Linked DNA regions of Homo sapiens: region 2 is linked to region 1. The links are contacts of gene promoters, found by promoter capture Hi-C in blood cells and fetal thymus (Javierre and others, 2016). All regions are on one chromosome and are shown on one strand. Each heading gives the region's core, a stretch centred on a gene start or on the middle of the fragment in contact. The rest is flanking DNA. Distances are from core to core; before and after follow the strand shown.

What was found. Contacts are between HindIII fragments. The CHiCAGO score rates a contact against its expected background, and 5 or more counts as called.
Region 2: a contact is called between a fragment that was not itself captured here and the fragment with the promoter of ITPA in region 1, in 1 of 17 cell types (fetal thymus). The highest score is 6.6, in fetal thymus.

What each region holds. Positions count from the first base shown.
Region 1 is chr20:3,205,132-3,210,795 of GRCh38, reverse strand. ITPA (inosine triphosphatase) reads right to left here and starts at 1,298. Exons shown (of 8, transcript NM_033453.4): 1 at 1,179-1,298. The coding sequence starts at 1,244. RefSeq lists enhancers at 1,103-1,172, 1,055-1,703. The HindIII fragment of the contact is 7,672 bases long and covers 1-5,411 here.
Region 2 is chr20:3,317,632-3,323,671 of GRCh38, reverse strand. DNAAF9 (dynein axonemal assembly factor 9) reads left to right here. Exons shown (of 37, transcript NM_001009984.3): 15 at 976-1,020; 16 at 1,410-1,455; 17 at 5,272-5,383. Among named protein-coding and RNA genes, the nearest start is that of SLC4A11, 81 kb to the right of the region's middle. The HindIII fragment of the contact is 1,022 bases long and covers 1,796-2,817 here.

The sequences.
Region 1 (5,664 bases), core at 49-2,548:
TACAGGCGTGAGGCACTGCACTCGGGTTCCAGCTCCTTCTTTAAGTGAGGGCAATATTCTCAGCCAGAGGTTTGGGGTCTCATGCCCACTGTCCTGCATGGGCTCTGTTCAGGGTGGACTGCCTGACTGGTCTGGCCTCAGGATCCCAAACCTTTTTTCGGCAAAAGGCTCTGGTTCCTGAGAAGGCCACTCAGTCCTGGCACCAAAGTGACATCAGTCCCTCCCTACACTACAGGCAAATGTAGGTGTCCCTAGTGATTACACCCCACTGGTCTGCCTCAGACATATCCAGTGGGTGTCATCCTGATCCCCCACACATGACCCCCACTCCATGGCTATGGCTGATTGAACAGGGGCAAACTCTTGATTCAAGCAAAGCCAGTCGGAGCTGATATCTGGTAGAAGCCTCATTGTTCCATCCCCCAGCAGGGAAGAAAGGGGAAAGATATGAACAGGAATAGGGATCAGCATCCAGAGAGAACAAGGACAAGTCAGCTTCTTGAGAGAACTTCAGGTCCTGTGGGACACGATAACACTATATTCCCACAGGAGTCATCTGGTGGCTTACATGAGCTCCCTGTGTGTTTCTGTTACTTGCTAGCCACAAAGTCCCTGCAAACAGAAACTTTAGATCCACTGCCTCCTTTACTCCTCCTCTCTATAGCGCTGTGAAGCAAATGTCCTGCATCATCCCCATTTCACACACGCGAAAAGAGGTTAGAACATTTCAGGACGGTGGTGAGGCACGGACTGCTCAGTGTGGAACTCCGTCCCACGCCCTCTCTGGGTCCTGCTAGCCCTGGCCCAGCAGCGGGATGTGGATAAGTCCCAGAAGAGTGTCGGGACACTGGGTTGGGGTCTACTTCAATAGGTGACCTTCGGGGCGGTTGTTAAGAGCCCCGCTACTCCTCCGGGTCCCGCAGTCGCTGACCACACAAGCCCTGTGTCGGGATCTGTCGAGACCCTCGTTCCCTCGCCAACCCCGGGGCGCCCCGATTCTGCAGCCACTCCCTTCTTGCGCCCCAGCTTTTCCACACAGCCGGGTCAGGACCCATTCTTCCGGGCTGAATTCTGTTCTCTCTCCATGCCTCCTCCCACGTGCTTCCCTCCTCCCGGAAGCCCCTTCTCCGCCCTATTCCCAGCCGCCTCCCAGTTAGCCCCCAACACCCTCCCGGCACCTCCTCCAGCTTCTTGGCGTTCCCCGTTACAAACACGATCTTCTTCCCCACCAATGAGGCCGCCATGGTGATCCCCGGTTACCCAGCTGAGCCACCGAAAACTCCTTGGCGTCCAGTGACAGAAAACTTCCGGCTGGTGGCGGAAGTGAACGGCTCAGTTTCCGGCCAGGGGTCCCGGGGAAAGCCGACCCGGACCCCAAGGCGCGTATCGGGCGAGTGGGCTCGCGGTGGCGGCCTAGCCCACAGCGTCCGATTTGCTGGGGGCCTCCCGAGCCTGGAGACTGAGTGACCCACCCCTCCTGCCTAAGGGACGCTATCTTCAAGAACCGGAAGAGACCACTCCCACCCCCACCCCGCCCCTGCTTTCGCTCTTCTCTGCAATGGGGTCTCCGAAAGGAGAAGACTGCAGCCCTGTGACCCTGGAGGTTTGCGCTCTCCTATGCTGTCTCAAAAAACTGCCTCCTTCTAGGCAAGGGCTTCCAAACCCTCATCCTGATCTCACCTTCAGCCTTACCCGCCAGCTATGATCCACTCGACTGTGAACTTAAACTCGGCATAGCCTAAAACAAGCCCAAACTTCTCACCCGTTTTCACTCCTAGGCTTGAGAGCTCAGTATGTAGAGTTCCTCACTTCCTCATCCCTCCAGCCTCTCAAATCTATCACCCCTTCTCCGTGGCCACCGTTTCAGCCAGATCTTTGCATTCCAAACACAACAGAAAGTAGGAAGTGCCCTCTCAAAGGTGGGTCTGCTGAACCTCTGCTGATACTCTCTTTGCAGCAAGTCATCTGACCTCCCTCCTCCAGAGACTCAGCCCTCTGCCCCCCGCCTGGACCCCTGTGTCAGTACCTCTTGAATGGCCACTTCTGCCCATGGACAAGAAAGGGAGGGAGTCTGAGTTCTTACCAAGCTCCTCAGGCCATTCTGATGCTCATCAAAGTGTGGGAAAGCCCGGTGGCTCACGCCTGTAATCCCAGCACTTTGGGAGGCTGAGGCGAGTGGATCACCCGAGGTCAGGAGTTTGAAACCAGCCTGACCAACATGGAGAAACCCCATCTCTACCAAAAAGTACAAAATTAGCTGGGCATGGTGGTGCATGCCTGTAATCCCAGTTCAGAGAATTCAGGATTCAGGAGAATCGCCTGAATTCGGGAGGTGGGGGTTGCAGTGAGCGGAGATCGTGCCATCGGACTCCAGCCTGGGCAACAAGAGCAAAACTGCGTCTGAAAAAGAAAAAAAATGTGTGGGAACCACTGCTTTGGGTGGTGACCTGTTTTCTTTTATTGAAGTAGAAACACTAACCATTATGCAGAGTCCCTAGAGGAGTGGCCATGGGGATTTGGGGGCAGAGGAGGGCTTGGGGGACATCAGTTACCCCGAGGAGCCTGAAAAGAAGAAAAACAGCCCACCTTACATGGATGCCTTTCTTGGATCTTAGCCAGCTCAAGCCCCAGCTCAGGAAAACCTTCCCTGAGCTCCCTTTCATCTGCTTGCATAGCACTGACCTCTGCACTGCAAATAGATATTCATTTGTGTGATTCTGTTTTCTCTTCTAAAAATCCTAATGGTAAAAACCATATCTGTTTTTGCTCACCTCTCTTTTTCTTTTTTTTTTTTTTTTTTGAGACGGAGTCTTGCTCTAGTCACCTGGCCTGGAGTGCAATGGCATGATCTTGGCTCACTGCAACCTCTGTCTCCTGGGTTGAAGCGATTCTCCTGCCTCAGCCTCCTGAGTAGCTGGGACTACAAGCACCCCCCACGACGCCCAGCTAATTTCTGCATTTTTAGTAGAGACGGGGTTTCACCATGTTGGCCAGGCTGGTCTCGAACTCCTGACGTCGTGATATGCCCACCTCGGCCTCCCTAAGTGCTGGGATTACAGGCATCAGCCACTGTGTTTTGTTGTTGTTGTTGTTGTTGTTTTGAGATGGAGTCTTGCTCTTGTCGCCCAGGCTTGAGTGCAGTGGCACGATCTCGGCTCACTTCAACCTCCGACTCCCGGGTTCAAGGGATTCTCCTGCCTCAGCCTCCTGAGTAGCTGGGATTACAGACATGCACCACCACACCCAGTGAATTTTTGTACTTTTAGTAGAGGTGGGGTTTCACCATATTGACCAGGCTGGTCTCAAACTCCTGACCTCAGGAGATCCCTCCACCTCAGCCTCCCAAAGTGCTGAGATTACAGGCTTGAGCCACGGTGCCCAGCCTCACCTCTCATTCTTAAATCCCAGCTCCTGGTACATAGTAGGTGTTCTGTAATGTAAGATAACTAGCTTGGGCACAGTGGATCACTTGATCCCAGGAGTTCAAGACAAGCCTAGACAACATGGTGAAACCCAGTCTCTACAAAAAATACAAAAAATTAGTTGGGCTTGGGGGCACACACCTGTAGTCACAGCTGTTTAGGAGGCTGAGGTGGGAGGATCACCTGAGCCTGGGAAGTCGAGGCTGCAGTGAGCCAAGAGTGCCACTGTACTCTAGCCTGGGTGATGTGAGTGAGACCCTGTCTCAAAAAACCAACAAACAAAAAGATCACAACTGACATCTATAATTACAAGTCCATAGATAACTTTCTTTTTCATTCTTTTATTTATTTATTTTTTTTGAGATGGAGTCTTGCTCTGTTGCCCAGGCTGAAGTACAGTGGTGTGGTCCCGGCTCACTGCAACCTCTGCATATTGGGTTCGAGCAGTTCTCCCACCTCAGCCTCCTGAGTAGCTGGGACTCCAGGCATGCACCACCATGCCTGGTTAATTTTTGTATCTTTCTTCTTCTTTTTTTTTTTTTTTTGAGACAGTCTCACTCTGTCGCCCAGGCTGGAGTGCAGTGGCGCGATCTCAGCTCACTGCAAGCTCCGCCTCCCGGGTCCCCACCATTCTCCTGCCTCAGCCTCCCAAGTAGCTGGGACTACAGGCGCCCACCACCACGCCTGGCTAATTTTTTTGTATTTTTAGTAGAGACGGGGTTTCACCGTGTTAGCCAGGATGGTTTTGATCTCCTGACCTCGTGATCCGCCTGCCTCAGCCTCCCGAAGTGCTGGGATTATGGGCATGAGCCACCACACCCGGCTAATTTTGTATTTTTAGTAGAGATGGGGTTTCTCCATGTTGGTCAGGCTGGTCTCAAATTCCCGACCTCAGGTGATCCACCCACCTCGACCTCCCAAAGTGTTGGTTGGGATTGTAGGCGTGAGCCACGGTGCCCAGCTTTTTTTTTTTTTTTTTTTTTTTTGAGACTGAGTCTCACTCTGTTGCCCAGGCTGGAGTGCAATAGTGTGATCTCGGCTCACTGCAACCTCTGCCTCCCGGCTTCGAGAGATTCTCCTGCCTCAGCCTCCCAAGTAGCTGGGATTACAGGCACCCACCACCACGCCAAGCTAATTTTGTATTTTTAGTAGAGACAGGGTTTCACTGTGTTTGTCAGGCTGGTCTCAAACTCCTGAGTTCAGGTGATCCACCCACCTCAGCCTCCCAAAGTGCTGGGATTACAGGTGTGAGCCACCTCGCCCAGCCCATATTTTTTCTTTTTCTTTTTCTTTCTTTCTTTCTTTTTTTTTTTTTTTTGAGACAGAGTCTTGCTCTGTCGCTCAGGCTGGTGTGCAGTGGTGCAATCTTGGCTCACTGCAACGTCCGCCCCCTGGGTTCAAGTGATTCTCCTGCCTCAGCCTCCCGAGTAGCTGGGATTACAGGCATGTGCCACCACGCCCCACTCATTGTTTGTATTTTTAGTAGAGACAGGATTTCATCACGTCAGCTAGGCTGGTTTTGAACACTTGACCTGAAGTGATCCGCCCACCTCGGCCTCCCAAAGTGCTAGGATTACAGGGGAGAGCCACCTCATCTGGCCCGTATTTTTTCAAATCCCTTTCTCACCATTGTTCATTGGTCCTGAATTTATTTTTATTTATTTTTATTTTCTGAGACAGGGTCTCACTCTATCACCCAGGCTGGAGTGCACTGGCATGATCATGGCTCACTGCAGCCTCGACCTCCCTGGGCTCAGGTGATCTTCCCACCTCATCTTCCCAAGTACCTGGAATCACAGGTGCATGCCACCACACCTGGCTAATTTTTGTATTTTGTAGAGACAGGGTTTCATCATGTTGCCCAGGCTGGTCTTGAACTCCTAGGCTCACCTCTACCTAGACTTCCCAAAGTATTGGGTTAACAGACGAGCCTCTGTGCCTGGCTCCTGAAATAAATCTTTACTTCTGTTATCATGTATACAAAAAGCTTAATAAATTCCAGTACTGCCCTCCCCTCCCCTCCCCTTCCCCTCAAAAGAAAGAAAGAAAGAAAGAAATTCAGTGTCACAGATACAGCAAAACCCCAACCCGCTTCCCTCCTCCTAGAGGTAATCGCTATCCTGAAGTTGGTGTGCATCAGTCCCAAGCCTCTTTTCGTACTTTTTCCACGGTTGTTTCCATAAACACTATGTGGGATTGTTTAGTGATTTTTAAAACATATATAGTCCGGGCGCGGTGGCTC
Region 2 (6,040 bases), core at 1,057-3,556, 110 kb before region 1:
GAAAACACCAGTCAATGGGAGAAAAGTCCCCCAGGCCAGTCTTCCACCTAGAGCCCCTCCCCTTTCTCACCACAAAGATTGCTTCACTGAGGGCGGGGCGCAGTGGCTCACGCCTGTAATCTTAACACTTTGGGAGGCCAAGACAGGCGATCACTTGAGGTCAGGAGTTCAAGACCATCCTGACCAACATGGCAAAACCCCGCCTTCATTAAAAATGCAAAAATTAGCCAGGCATGATGGTACACACCTGTAGTCCCAGCTATTGGGGAGGCTGAAGCAGGAGAATCGCTTGAACCCAGGAGGTGGAGGTTGCAGTGAGTCGAGATTGCGCCACTGCACTCCAGCCTGGGTGACAGAATGAGACTCTGTCTCAAAAAAAAAAAAAAAAAAAAAAAAAGATTACTTCACTGAGGACCCTCAAACTGCTTCAGGTTAGCAGATCTCTTTCTCCCAAGAGGGGAAGGAGTGGGAGCCATGAATGCAGACAGTAATTAGTGTGTAGCTATCTAGTATGTGTTAATGCAAGAGATTACACTTACACAAGTTAGAGTAAGCTGAAAGGGTTTTCTAGTTATTTCTCAACTCTGAAGGCCTCACCCATGGCTCCACAGCATTTGACTGTGAGTTGCAGAGACGTGGCCTCTGCTTGCGCTCAGAGCAGGGATGGAGGGTCATTCTCAGTCTGCAGTGAGCAGCAGTCCTCTCATGTCATTTTCTCCTGTTGTGGTCCAAGAGTCAAGACCGTCCTTAGGACTTGCACAGAGGCAGGGCTGTGATTAGAGTCAGATTCTGGCCTCATACCTGCTGGTGGTGTGGGACCCTGGGGAAAGTATCCAAAATAGGGTAAATCTGTGTAAAGCAAGGATGACACACACCTCACTGTGTGGCCTTGAGAATCCCAAGCAGGTACCCTGCACAGGTATCTGAGGAGCAGGAGCAGACTGATTTTTCTTTTGTTTTGTTTCTGGTCTACAGCTCCAAGATGACTTTTCATATACATGCTGTGAATAATCAGGGAAGGTGCGTATATGATTGTGGTGCATCCTTACATGGAGCAAGTTTTAGGAAGATAAAGAGAGGGGAGGCTGCTGACATGAGTGGTTTTCTCATGCTTCCACACCTAGCAGTGACATCACTCCAGGGTTGGGCTTGGGCTGGCTGTGCTCAGCTGAGCCCCTGTACCCTGAGTGCTTCCCACTGCAGAGCTGAGGGGCAGAGGTGGGGATGGACATACTCACCTTAGTGGCCCACATACCAATTCTACAGACATGCAACCCAGTGTTTTGAAAGGCCCTAAGAGCAATCCGAATCTATGACTTGTCATTGCCAAGTTGAAAAAAGCAAACACTGTAAATTTAAGTACACTTAAAAACTCTTTAACATAGTCTTCCATCTCTTTCCCCTCCTAGAATTGTACCGCTGGACAGTGAAGATAGCTTATCCTTTGTGAAGACGGTAAGCAGAGCTATCATGGGTCAGCTGGCTGGGAATGGCCTGTAGAGGGACATCTGTAAGTTGGGAGGTGGGAGTGGGTGGGGGTCTTGGGCAGCCCACCCCACCTGAAGAAGCTGATCTTCTCTCAGTCCTATCCCAGCCATAGCAGGGGTGAGCCTGTGTTTACTGAAGGTACCCAGGTAGCTGTGCTAGGCCCACCCACATCTATTCTCCCTTGCCTAGGCTTCCCCAGTGTCCAGAGTCTTAACTGAGGTGTTGGGAGGCACCTCTTTCTGGGTTATGAAGCCTTCCTACAGGTAGCTGAGATTGCTCTTGTCGAAATGTGAATCCAGGACAAGCTTGCCTTGACTAACAGACTAAGTTTTTCAGTGGCATCTTTGAGTTCCAAGACTTGCATTGATGTCCTTAACAGGAACCTAGAGTTGAGACCAGTCTTGACAGCGTAGTGAGACCCCGTGTCTAAAAAAAAAAATTTTTTTAATTAGGCAGGTGTGGTGGCATGCACCTGTAGCCCGACCTCCTCAGGAGGCTGAGGCAGGAGGATCACTTGAGTCCAGGAGTTTGAGACTGCAGTGAACTGTGATTGCACCACTGCACTCCAGCCTGGATGACAGAGTGAGATTTAGTCTCAGAAAACAAACAAACAAAAACAGGGAACCTGAGAAAATTAACTACAGTCCTGTACCACAAAAGGACATCTTGGTCAACAGTGGACTGCAGATACAACAGTGGTCCCATAATATCATAATACTGTATTTTTACCCACCATTTCTATGTGTAGATATGCCTAAATTCACAAATATTACCATCATGTTATAATTGCCTACAGTATTCAGTATAGTAACATGCTGTACGGGTTTGTAGCCTAGGAGCAATAGACTATACCAGCTAGCCTAGGTGTATAGTAGGCTACACCATCTAGGTTTAAGTACACTCTACAATGTTCACACAGTGATGAAATCAGCTAATGATGCATTTCTCAGAATGTATCCCTGTCATTAAGTGATACATGACTATAATTATTTAAATGGCCAATAATCAACAGGGACCTGGGTCTGCCATGAAGTAGAGTAGTCAGAGCAACGTTTTCCAACCTGTGTGCTGGGGGCATGGTTTGGAGATGCACTGAGATAATGGTCCCTGGGGTGGGATGGCATGGCGAAGGGGAGCCAGAGTTTCTAGGCCAGTTGTTCTCAGCCACAAGCTGAGTCCTCCCTTTACCCCAGAACATCCTGATGTGAAGAAGATTGGCAAATGGTACATGAGAGGGTAGTACATATCTAGCCAAGATTCTGTTTGTGGTGTGTGTTATATCTTGAGTCTGTTCTGTGACCACTGCCTGAGCCTTAGTTTGAAAAAGCTTTGGTCCCAGGGAACTGGGTGAGCAGCACCCAGTGGATAATTTGGTACAAGCGCATCCCCATCACCATCACCTGTGGAAAAGTAACTCAAAAGTTCCTGTCAGTAGTGTTAACCTATCTACAGAGAATAGCACAACAAGGGTAATTTTTTTAAGGTTGTAATTTATGTTTTTATAATGTTCCTGGTCCCCATCTGTCAACATTTTGTGTGGATGTTCTTTTAGAACTAGTTTAGACTTTTTTGTGATATCATTAAAACATTGGGAAATACTTTCTGATATTTAGGTGATAATACTTTATCTCCTTGTTAGACTTTAAATCCCTGACTTCTCTCCTTAGACTCTTGAGCAGTGCTTTGGAAGATGCTTTGCATAGTAGCAGGTGATTAGGAATCCAGTAAAATCATAGTCTTGCGTCAAGTATGCACAGCTAATGAGATAGGAAATAAGAGGCAGGAAGTTGATGCTTTTTGTCTACATTCTGTCCTCTTATCCAGAGATGAAGTTCTATATCCTCCCCAAAGCCTTCCCTGTTGATTTCTCCCTACAAGTATTCCTATAGTCCTTGCAGTTGCAGTTTGTACTACACAAATTAAGAAATAATTATATCCTAATGTGTCATATGATATCATAATGTGTCATATGATGACCTTCATATAAGAATGCCCTTGTTTCTCCAGCTATACATTATAGATTTCCTGAAGACAGGCACCATGCTGTATTTTTTCTTTCCCCGTGCCACATGGTGGGAAGTACATAACAAGTGTCCAACAAATGCTACATGTTATCTTTTTAATATCCTCTCTTCCCTTCCTCAATACCAGTGGCCAAATATGAACATGAAGGATCAGGAACCCCCAGGATCTGTCCACCTGATTGGTCTGGGAACCAAAGACATAGGATTGCCATTGTCACTTAAGAGGGACCATGTAGCTCAGGAGGGTTCTGTGTCTTCAGATGCTCGAAATCCTTTGAGACAGCTTTAGATAAACCTTCCAGTTGTCAAACCTGAAAGGAAAGTTAATTCAAATATAGACGCCTACTTGTCTCTTTTGTATATCCTATTATCATAATAATATGGAAAATTAAGGGCTTTGGCCTTAACTGTGGTTTTTTTCCTTTCAACCTTGTGGCCTCTTTAAGTTTTTATTTGAAAATTCAGCAATCCGTTCAAGAGCCTCAGATCTTTTGTCTCTGTCCTAAGGGGTGGGACAGGCGTCCCAGGCTAGGACGACAATATGTGAAAGTGGACTTAGGAGATCTGCACCAGCACCCACCGCTCACTACTATTCAGGGTAGGAGGGGACAGGTCCTTGTGCTACTTATCCCATGTCCCTCATCAGATCTTCCTGGTCATCACAGACTCTAGCTCTAGCTAACATCATTTTCTCTTTCTTCTGCTGGCTTCTTCCCGGAATTGTTTCATTTTCACTAGTTTTTACCTAATAAATTAGGGCTTTCTTACCAGACATTTGGGAGCTCTCTGAGTTGTTCTAATTTTGTTTCCAGGCTACTGAAGCCTCAGCTTTTATTTGTCTTGGCCATAAAAGCTTGATAGCTTTCTTGCTTTTTTTTTTTTTTTTTTTTTTTTTTTGAGACGGGGTCTCGGTCCGTTGCCCAGGCTGGAGTGCAGTGGCATGATCATAGATCACTGCAGCCTCAACCTCCTGGGCTCAAACAATCCTCCTGCCTTAGCCTCCTGAATAACAGAGACCACAGGCAGACGCCACCATGCCTGGCTATTTTTTTTTCTTTTTTTTTTTTTTTTTTTTTTGAGACAGAGTCTTGCTCTGTTGCCCAGGCTGGAGTTCAGTGGCGCGATCTCAGCTCACTGCAGCCTCCACCTCCCAGGTTCAAGCAATTCTCCTGCCTCAGCCTCCCAAGTAGCTGGGATTACAGGCACACGCCACCATGCCTGGCTAATTTTTTTTTGTATTTTTAGTAGAGATGGGGTTTCACCATGTTGCCCAGGCTAGTCTCAAACTCCTGGGCTCAAGTGATCCACCCGCCTCAACCTCCCAAAGTGTTGGGATTATGGGCATGAGTCATTATGCCTAGCCTAATTTTTTCTTTAGTAGAGTGGGGATCTCACTGTGTTGTTCAGGGTGGTCTCAAACTCCTGGGTTCCTTGACCTCCCAAATTACTGGGATTACAGGCATGAGCCACTGTGCCTAGTCAGCATAAAGCAATTTGAGGGAATATACGGAAACATAAGGATACTTTCCTTATAGCCCAAGGGTGTCTCTGATCAGGGAGCAATTTCAGGGAAGCCTGGGTGATCCTAAAGTCACCTCCCAGTTCAAAGATGTATTTAGGATAACTCCAGTTTTCCCTAGAAACTCTTCAGTACTCTTTTGCCATGTTCCTTTAGGCAGTATTTGTGGTCTCATTCTTATGGACTTCTCTGAAAGTTTTGGGCTGGTAACTGATCTAACTGGTTTCTCATTCAATGCAGGCTTGTATGGCCGTCTATGACATTCCTGACTTACTGGGAGGCAATGGTTGTTTAGGATCTGTGGTTTTCTCTGAATCATTTTTGACTTCTCAGATCTTAGTTAAAGAAAAGGGTAAGTATATGTGATCTTTAGAAAGCAAACCTTAAGCCTTTTTTTTTTTTTTTTGGCAAAATAAACTATAAACTAAGGCAAAAGGCCAACAATAAACTGGTAAAAATATTAGAACTGATGATCACAGCACTGCACTCCAGCCTCAGTGACACAGTGAGACCCCGTATCAAAAAAAAAAAAAAAAGAGAAACATTAAAGATGAACAAAGGGTGTATAACCTAATTTATGAAGAACTCTTCCAAAATTAATAAGAAAAGATAAGCTACCCAATAGTAAAATGAGCAAAAAAAATGAACAGGCACTTCACAGACGTGGAAAACAAAAAAGAGAGGAGGACTATTTATAAATGAAGATATGTAATCTCACTAGTAGTCAAGAAGAAGCAACTTGAAGGCTGGGCGTGGTGGTTCATGCCTGTAATCCCAGCACTTTGGGAGCCCAAGGTGGGCGAATCACTTGAGGTCAGGAGTTTGAGACCAGCCTGGCCAACATGGTGAAACCCCATCTCTACTAAAAATACAAAAATTAGCCGGGCATGGTGGTGGGTGCCTGTAATCCCAATTACTCGGGAAGCTGAGGCAGGAGAATCACTTGAACCTAGGAGGCGGAGGTTGCATTGAGCTGAGGTCGCACCACTGCACTCCAGCCTGGGTGACA